Regions from separate parts of the Homo sapiens genome. Here regions 1 and 3 are each linked to region 2. Evidence: promoter capture Hi-C in 16 types of primary human blood cells and fetal thymus (Javierre and others, 2016). All regions are on one chromosome and are shown on one strand. The core of a region is centred on a gene start or on the middle of the fragment in contact, and the rest is flanking DNA. Distances in the headings are between cores, read along the strand shown. Region 1 overlaps RBFOX3 (RNA binding fox-1 homolog 3). Region 2 holds the start of ENGASE (endo-beta-N-acetylglucosaminidase). Region 3 overlaps RBFOX3 (RNA binding fox-1 homolog 3).

The links. Contacts are between HindIII fragments. The CHiCAGO score rates a contact against its expected background, and 5 or more counts as called.
Region 1: a contact is called between a fragment that was not itself captured here and the fragment with the promoter of ENGASE in region 2, in 1 of 17 cell types (naive B cells). The highest score is 6.5, in naive B cells.
Region 3: a contact is called between a fragment that was not itself captured here and the fragment with the promoter of ENGASE in region 2, in 2 of 17 cell types (total B cells and naive B cells). The highest score is 6.9, in total B cells.

Annotation. Positions count from the first base shown.
Region 1 is chr17:79,414,986-79,417,790 of GRCh38, forward strand. All of the region lies in intron 2 of RBFOX3 (RNA binding fox-1 homolog 3), which reads right to left. Among named protein-coding and RNA genes, the nearest start is that of RBFOX3, 190 kb to the right of the region's middle. The HindIII fragment of the contact is 1,646 bases long and covers 583-2,228 here.
Region 2 is chr17:79,073,280-79,076,100 of GRCh38, forward strand. ENGASE (endo-beta-N-acetylglucosaminidase) reads left to right here and starts at 1,545. Exons shown (of 14, transcript NM_001042573.3): 1 at 1,545-1,811. The coding sequence starts at 1,666. RefSeq lists a silencer at 1,407-1,946. The HindIII fragment of the contact is 10,832 bases long and covers 483-2,821 here.
Region 3 is chr17:79,367,191-79,370,049 of GRCh38, forward strand. All of the region lies in intron 2 of RBFOX3 (RNA binding fox-1 homolog 3), which reads right to left. Among named protein-coding and RNA genes, the nearest start is that of RBFOX3, 240 kb to the right of the region's middle. The HindIII fragment of the contact is 5,229 bases long and covers 1-2,859 here.

The DNA.
Region 1 (2,805 bases), core at 156-2,655, 340 kb after region 2:
AGCACAGGTCTGTTCCCCAGGGCAGCCTCCCCAGCTCATCGCCACGGTCCACATGCGGACAAAGACTCACACCAATCCCAGGGCCACCAGGCTGCAATTTCATCACGGGGTTCTGAGTCTGGGGAGTTCAAGTGACTTCTGAGACCACTTGGGGGTGCAATCTGCCCGGTGCCACCTACGAGGACCGCCTTTGCCGAGGTACCTGGGCCGAGGCCCAGCAATACCTGGTAGAATCTTTGTATTCGTTTAAGCCCAGATGAGTTCCAAAGAGCCAGTCCCTGGCACACAGACTCTCACCTTTAGGAGGCTGCCCATGGCTGGACCCTGAGTGATCCCCACATGAAGTGTGGGGCTAAATACTCCAAGGTCCATTTTTTGATCCTGGGGGTCAGAGTACCTCCCCTCCCCCACCCAGGGAGAAGGGGGCACTGTGCACCCCTGAGGCCGACCCTAGCGGCTGTGGAAGAGCTAAGGAAACTTGGAAGCCCTGGACATCTCGGCTCTTGTATTTCAGCACGGCAGACGCAGATGGAGGAGAGAGAAACTCCCTCCTCTGGTGGTGTGTGCATGCAGGCAGCCCCAAGCTTTCCAAAGCCACTCTGCCGGCTCCTGGGGCCACCAGGGCGGGCAGCTAGATGGCCAAGTGGCAGGACAGTCACACAATTGCATGCGGCTCAGTTACGATGGGCACACAGGGAGCAGGTCCTCGGAGGGAGGGGCTGGGGCGGAGTCGGCTCCCTGCCTGACGTTTAGGTGAAACTCTTCTTTCATCTGGGCCCTGGGGGAGGCAGAGTCTGTGTGGGTCATAAGGAGGGGTCTCTGCAAATGGCAGCCTGCATGTGCTGGGGCTGTGGAGGAAGGGAGAGGGACTGCAGGGGTCTCTGAGCATGCCGCAGACCCCAGGGGAGCCCACACACTGGAGCAGGCCCCTCCCACCTCCTCACCTGCAGACGCCCCCAGACTCTGAGAGTCTCTGCTCCCCTCTCCACTGACATGGGCCCCAGAATTCCAGGAGGAGGCTGGAAAAGGCCATGCCTGCGCTGCCTCCTTCTGCCGCCGCCTCTTCCTCTCGCCTGCACTCCAGGGTCCATGTGGTGCAACGGAGTCCTTCCAGCACCCCCAGGCAGGGCAGGGCTGCCCACAGGTGCCCCCACAAGGCCAAGGGCTGCCACCTGCACGGACAGGTCTCAGCTCACCTGGGAGGGCCAAAGGACAGCTGGAATCCTCCCCGGGAGCAGCTGGAATCACCTGCAACCCTCGGTCAAGGAGTGGACCTGGGAGCAGTTACTGCACCCAGAGCTCCCTCCCTCTTCTGGTCTGAGGTGCTTTGGCCATGGCCCCTGCCAAACCAGCCCTTCCTGCTCTGCCCACCGCCAAGCCCAAAGCCTCCTCCCTAGCAGACCCGCCAGCTCTCCTGCTAGGCATAGTATAGGGCAAGGATAGCACCACAGTCCCCATTCTCACTGTCAGCCCCCACTATCCATCAAGGACGCCCAATGGTTCCAGGATCCAAGACAGCGACGTGGCCCAGCACTTCTGGTGTGGCCCCTGCGATGGCGTGACCAGAGAGAGCGAAGACACTTGCTCTCCCACGGGGGCCAGCAGGTGAACCCTGGGGCCAATCCCAGTAGCCTCCTGTGGGGAGAGAAGCTGCAGGAGAAGTGGAGGCCGGCCCTCCCCCGCACCCACCCCTCCAGGTTGGGATGGGGCTGCCACTCAGGCTTCAGCAGCCCCTTGGATCTATCTGCCTCGATTGCTGACCCCTTGGTACTGACAAGCGCAGCTGGCTGTTTTGTGACCTTTAGAATCTAAAGCAACACAAATAGAGCAGCCCCCTTGCCATGAAAGTCTGCAGGGCAAACTGTGGGCCCAGGGGATGTGCTGTTTTGGGGATGCGGCTCTCCCTCCTGCTGGCTGCACCTGGCTGGCAGGTTGGGCAGGACCCATGTTCCTTACCCGCATCCGAGGAATACCACAGTTGCCTGGTAAGCCCCAGGCCCCTTGGCATGGTTTGCAGCAGGGTTCGCATGGCAGGGAGTGGAAAGGCGGCCCCACCCTGTCCCTGCCGCTCTCCCCAGCTCTGCATAAGGGGCACATCTCTCCTGGCAGGGTGGAAGGGGCAGCCAGGTGTTCTGCCAGGATGGCAGGAAAGGGGAGAAGTGGCTGTGACTGTGCCTATGTCATCTGCACAGCCTGGGGGAGAGGAGAGAAGATAACAGAGGCAGAGAAGCTTCTCCTTGCTCCCCGTAAGAGTCTCTCAGCCCCTCAGCCTCTCCCAAAACCCCTGGTCAGAGGCAGAATACTCACTCCTGCTCAGGGGTGCCTCAGCTGAAGCTCTCAGGAAAGAAGGGGCCTGGCTCTGCAGTTCTTGAGGACATCAGAGAGGACACCCCTGGCCCTGTCACAATCCCTTCCAGAGAGCACCAGCGGCCTGGCTTGTCCCTGGATGTTGAAAAGTAGCTGTTCCCCACGGCCTTTCTTTCTCAGAGGAACATGCCCAACCAGGCAGGGAAGAGTCCTGACTACAAGCCAATGGGCTGCCCGACACCCATAAGGATGGCTGCTATCAAAAGCACAGAAAATAACAAGGCATTGGCGAGGGTGTGGGGAAGTTGCAACCCTCATGCATTGCTGGTGGGAATGGAAGATGGCGCCGCTGCTGCGGAAAAGGAAGGTTTGGCGGTTCCTTAAACAATCAGATGGAATTGCCATATGGTCAGCAACCCTGCTCCTGGGTACAGCCCCAAGAGAACTGAGAGCCGCAACTCCAACTGAGAAGTGCACTTCGTGTTCACGGCAGCATCA
Region 2 (2,821 bases), core at 295-2,794:
GTGCAAGGCTGCCTTCACTTTCTTGCTCTTCTAGACCAGGTGCCTACTCTTTGGAAAGGAGAGAAGAAAAGGGAGGTTTGGGCATATTTTCTCCCAGAGACTGAGCATTACCCAAAGGCTGTTCAAAGTATCCCTTAGAACTGTGTTCTAACCTGGGTAGGATGAAAGTTTATCTATTTTTATTGCTAAGCTGCAGGTGAGGGCTTGGGAACACCTGGTTACATGCACCCCAGATCAAGACTGTCCACGTCCGGTGCACCCCTGAACACAGCAGGAGGGAACTTGGGGATCCACTGCCCTCGCTCACTGTAAGCTTCCCAGGACTGAAGCCCCAAAGAGGAGCCCTCTGCCTTCTCTGTCCTCCCCATGGGTCAGCGTGTCCTGCTTCTGAGTGGCCCGTCCTTCCTGCCTAACTGGCTGGCCTGCACCATGGCCCATATTCAACAACCTTAGTCATAGTTCCCACCATTGGCGTTTATGGAAGCTTGGAGCCTCATAAAGTTCAAAGTCTGCAACAATAATAAAGGCCCAGTCAACTTGGCTTGGGCGGCAGCTGCAGCCCAGCACTGGAAGCTCCTAGCTGTGGAGGGGCGTTGGGGCCTGGAGGGAGGAGAGCCTTGGTTTGCCCTGTGGGGCCCAGCCTTGAGTTCTGGCTTCTCAGGGCTCTGTTCTATCATGTTTCCTGTGAACTCCTTTTGTGCCTAAGACGCTGGGCAGTGCCACTCTTGCAGAGGTGCCACTCCAGGCCCTGCACGCTTAGGGGTAGAGCAACTACTACTGTTGGGCACAGGCGTGGGGCTGTAGAAAGAAATCCGTGTTTCACTGGAAAACTATGCATCCTACATAGGACACCAGCTTCCACATGGCCCGATACTAACCTACTAACCTTTCATCTTTTTTTTTTTTTTTTTGAGACGGAGTCTCCCTCTGTCGCCCAGGCTGGAGTGCAATGGCACCGTCTCGGCTCATTGCAGCCTCTGCCTCCCGGGTTCCAGCGATTCTCCAGTCTCAGCCTCTCAGGTAGCTGGGATTACAGGCATGCACCACCACGCCCGGCTAATTTTTGTATTTTAAGTAGAGACGGGGTTTCACCATGTTGGCCAGGGTAGTCTCGAACTCCTGACTTCAGGTGATCCGCCCGCCTCGGCCTCCCAAAGTGCTGGAATCGCAGACGTGAGTCACCGCGCCCGGTCTGAAAATTATCTTTTAATAGGGGTTAGCTGCATGAGTTAAAATCTCATTGCCACCATTTGCTGACTTTGTGCCCTCTGGGAGATTGCTTAATCTCTCTGGGATAAACCTCGGTTTGCTTGACAAAGGAAGCTGGTGAGGCTAAAGAGAGAACTCTAAGATTGGGGCGTTCCGAAGCCTTCTAGAGCCTTCTAGCACCCTGGACTCATAGCCAATGATGGGCAACAACAAGAACGACGACGAACCCTGGGCTCGGAACTCGCCCAGGCCCCGCCCCTCACAGCCCCGCCCCGTCCTCGGCCCCGCCCCCGGCCTGTCGCCTCAACAAAGTCCCCGCCGCGCGGCCGCTGGCCGGGAGTCAGCTCGGAGTCCCGTCCCAGCGCGGCGTCAGCGCTGCGCACTTCCCATTGGCCGAGCGCGGCGCGGGGGCGGGCCCGGGCCTGCGATTGCCTCTCGGCGTGCGCGGACAGTGTCATGGAGGCCGCGGCGGTGACGGTCACCCGGTCGGCTACACGGCGGCGGCGGCGGCAGCTGCAGGGGCTGGCGGCCCCGGAGGCGGGGACGCAGGAGGAGCAGGAGGATCAGGAGCCGCGGCCGCGGCGGCGGCGGCCGGGAAGGAGGTGGGGCTGCGGGGCCCGCGTGAACCCCGATCCGCGGGGCTGAGAGTCCGTGGCCCCGGGGCCCGAGGTTTCCCGGCACGGGCGCGCCGAGGGGCGGGGGGCCGGCGCCTGTGTCCGCTCCGTGCACAGTAAGGGACAGAGGGTGGCAGCGCCCCTCCGCCCCGGTCCGCCCCGCCGTCCTCGCGCCACTGCCGGGCAGCGGCCTCCGGCCCCCGTGCGTGACCCCTGCCTATCTCAGAAATACGGGTGCAAACCCGAGTGGCCGCGGGGCCCAGCGGGAATCCCGACGCCCCGGCCAGACCCCTGCTTCCCACGTCGCTGGTCTATGCGGAAGATCCCGGCGGCGGTGCTCATGCCTGGCTCAGTGGATGCCGGCTGGTGGAAGGGGTGGCCTTCTGTAGGGGTGACACTAGAACTGAGTCTTTGGGGAGGAGGAAGCCTTCAGTAGGTGGAGAATAGGGAGTAGGGTATCCAACTGGCGGGGAACAGAAAGGGCCAAAGCACAGAGACAGAAAGGGACGAACATGCCCCTCTGGGCTGGGCTTCCTTCCTTTGGGGGGCACTTGCCCACCCGGTAAACTCCCCCTCAGTAGGTTGCAGGGGGAGAAGTTAGGAGCACAGACATGGCTTCCGGAAACAGCAGCCGTAGCTTTGTTTCTAAACCCAAAGCAGTGAGACTGCTGAGCATTTCAGACCTCATGAAGATGGGATGAAGGCTGGCTGCTGGGAAAGATATTTTTGGACAGGAGGAATGTGGAGATGGCTCTTTCCCTCCTAGTGGAGGAATGACAGGTGACAAAGGTGACCTGGTGTGGGATTGTTCTGAGAAGGTCTGGGAGGGGGTGGCTGAAGTATAATAAGGACATCAACGAGGAAGGGGGCTTTGGAAAAGGAAGGTGGAGAGGAACAACTGCGGCATCTCTGCTTGAATCCGTCCCCGACCCCTGCAGTTCTCAGGGTCTCCCAATGTCATTCTGGAGGCCCTGGGTCAGTGTTTGGTGATGGCAGAT
Region 3 (2,859 bases), core at 283-2,782, 290 kb after region 2:
CTCTTCCTTCTCCTCGAAGTCCTCCTCCTCTCCCTCCTCCCCTCCCCTTCTCCCTCCTCCCCTCCTCCTTTTCTTCTTTCATCTCCTCCTCCTCCCCCTCCTCCTCCCTCTCCTCTTCCCCCTTCCCCTCCTCTTCTTCATTTCCTCTTCCTCCCCCTCCTCCTCCTACTCCTCCTCCACATCCTCCCCTCCAGTCCTCCTCCACCTCAAGTCCCCCGACCTTCTCCCACTGCTTGATCCTTCTTCAAAACGCAAATCACATTGGCCAGATTCATGCATGTATCACCCAGCAGTTAGCGATGAGCACTCATGAGCTCTGGGCTACAGGTGTCAGGAGAGACCGAGACAAGAGAAGACACACAGTAAGAAGAGTCCGCTTTCCCTGGTTTTAAGGTTTAGATTGCAAAAGTCAGATTTACTCCCAGCCAGTAACTTGAAAATATTTCCCCAGCCACCTACTACGGGATGCAGCAGAGGAGAAAATGGCACTACCATCCACCCCTCCGGGGAGGACAGGCAAAGGGAGCCACGGCCAGTGGGTGTCATGGTGGGCCGGACAGGCAGCTCTTTTGGGGGGTCTCTGTGGCAGCCAAGGTATGTGACAGAGGAGGAATCAGAGCCCGCCTGGCCCCCCAGGAAGGCTGCTCACCTGAAGGCAGACACTGTGGACAATCCACCGACAATCGTTCACTATGAATGGGTTTCTCCTGCCTCCGAATGTCTGGGACATCCCGGCATGACTCTGTGTGCATTCAGGGCTGGGGAATTAACTTCAGCCAAAGACAAACAACAACCGAGGGTCAGGGACACCTGAAATTCTTACAGGAGATTCTCAGCACATGGCAAGGTTAGTCCCAATGGGATTTGCTTTCATTTCCTGCTAATGAGATTAAGAGGCGTGGGGACAGAAGTTCCTGTCCACACCATCCTTTATTACGCATTGGCCCTGTCTTTCCTTCCACGGGATCCCACGGGATGGGTTCTCTTACAGAACAACTTTTCCCCTCTCCACAGCCGTGCCCACGTCATTCTGCAGAAGGGCTGAGCCTTATCTAAAGCAAAGGGAGCTGCAAAGATGAGGGGTCCAGTAGGAGCAGCAGCTGAGGAGAGACCTCCCCCTCCACCAGCCTGGGGCTGTAGCCAGGCCACACCATCCAGGTGGGGGACCAGGAAGCCAGGATCCTGCGTGCTGTCCTGCATCTGGGTTTCCCAATGTGGCTTCACAATGCTATTTGAACTGTGTTCATTTCCAAACCTAGGACGCCCGCATTTGCAGATGGACAAAAATGCCACACTTGGGAGTCAGTCGTGGGTTCCACCGGTTCCCCGCACCTGCTGCCTTGGTCTCAGTTCCTCTGCAGGACAATTGAGAAGCCCGTGGGTGGGTGACCTCATGTTGCCATGAAAGACACCACTCCCTGGATTGTTACCATCCGAGAAGGTGCTGGAAGAGCTGACCAGATTCCAAGCAGCAACCAACCCAGAGGTCCTCGCACACCAGCCCGATGCTGGTCCGAGGCCCCACGCTCAGCCTCCCTCCAGCCAGACACACGGGTGTCCGGGAGGTTGATCCTCAGCCAGGGCTGACACCATTAGGGCCATGGAAATGTCATGATTTCTTTTAAAATGAGAAGATAAAATGAACTTTAAGGGCCAACGATGCTTTTGTCTTTGTATCCACACTGTGGCAAAATCTACTTTTCACTATTTTTTGATGGCAGGAGATGGCCCACACAGGGCCCATGACAGGATGCAGCCATGGGCTTCACGAAGGCAGGAAAAGGCAGATCCCAGTCACTCGCTCACCGCCGCCTGCTATCCAGCCCACGGCCCACCACACAAGGAGAGCGAGGAGGGGCTCCAACCACACCAGCTCTGCCACCCCTGGACAGCCTGGGGGCATCTGCTCTGAGCTGTCTCACTGCGCCCAGTGCAGCTGGTGGGCATCCGGTGGCACTGTGCCACTCTCCAAGCACACGAGCAACGGGCAACTCTGGGTGGGGAGGGGCTGCCCATCAGCCGGGGTTGACCTGTGGCACCGGGTGCCAACACCATCTTCCCACCTCCCCAGGCACGGCGCCACCTCCACATCTGTACCCAAAGGCACCGGAGTTTCTACCACAGTCTGCCCCCACTCCCCGGGGAGGGGCTGATGGGGGCTCACCAGAGGGGTTGCCCTGGACCCTGACCGTGACCCTTGCCGTGACTGCTGGGGGCAAAGGACACGCGTTTCGGAGGGTTTGCTGTTTTCACCCCCAGAACTCAAATGGCCTTAGCAAGACAGGGCTTGTCTGGGGATCCCCTCGAACACCAGGCATACACAAGGCGCCTCCTCCCAGGCCTTTCCCTTCCTGCCACCCCAAACTCTGGGTGTGTGTTCTGGGGCATGGTTGGTGTTGCTCTGGTTAGCGTTGAAAGCCGCTCCCCTGCCACCACCATCTTGGTCAGTTCTGCCCGCAATGGCCTTGGGAGCCCACGTGTGTCTCCAGGTGATTCTTCACTGCTGTTGCCTCCCCTCTCCCTAGAGGGCCTTTCAGGTCCTGCAGCTCCTGGTGCCACCCCAGCTCAGGCTCTCTCTGCAGCCTCGGGAAAGATCATCTGCCCGCCCTGATGGATGGAGATTTGGTCAAACATCTGAGTGTCTATCCCCTGGCCTTGTCCCTCCTGTCCCCTCTTTCCCTCTCAAAGAAGCTCCCACGGAGAGAGAATTCCAGCTACGTCGGTGCAGAGTGGCCTTGGCTGAGGGTGAGCACTGGGCTGCAGGTGCACATTTCTCCTCTAAGCCCCACCAGACGCCCTTCGTTAGATGGAGTTTGGGATCCCACCAAAGAGAAGGCTCTTGGCCAGCAAGGGAGTTCA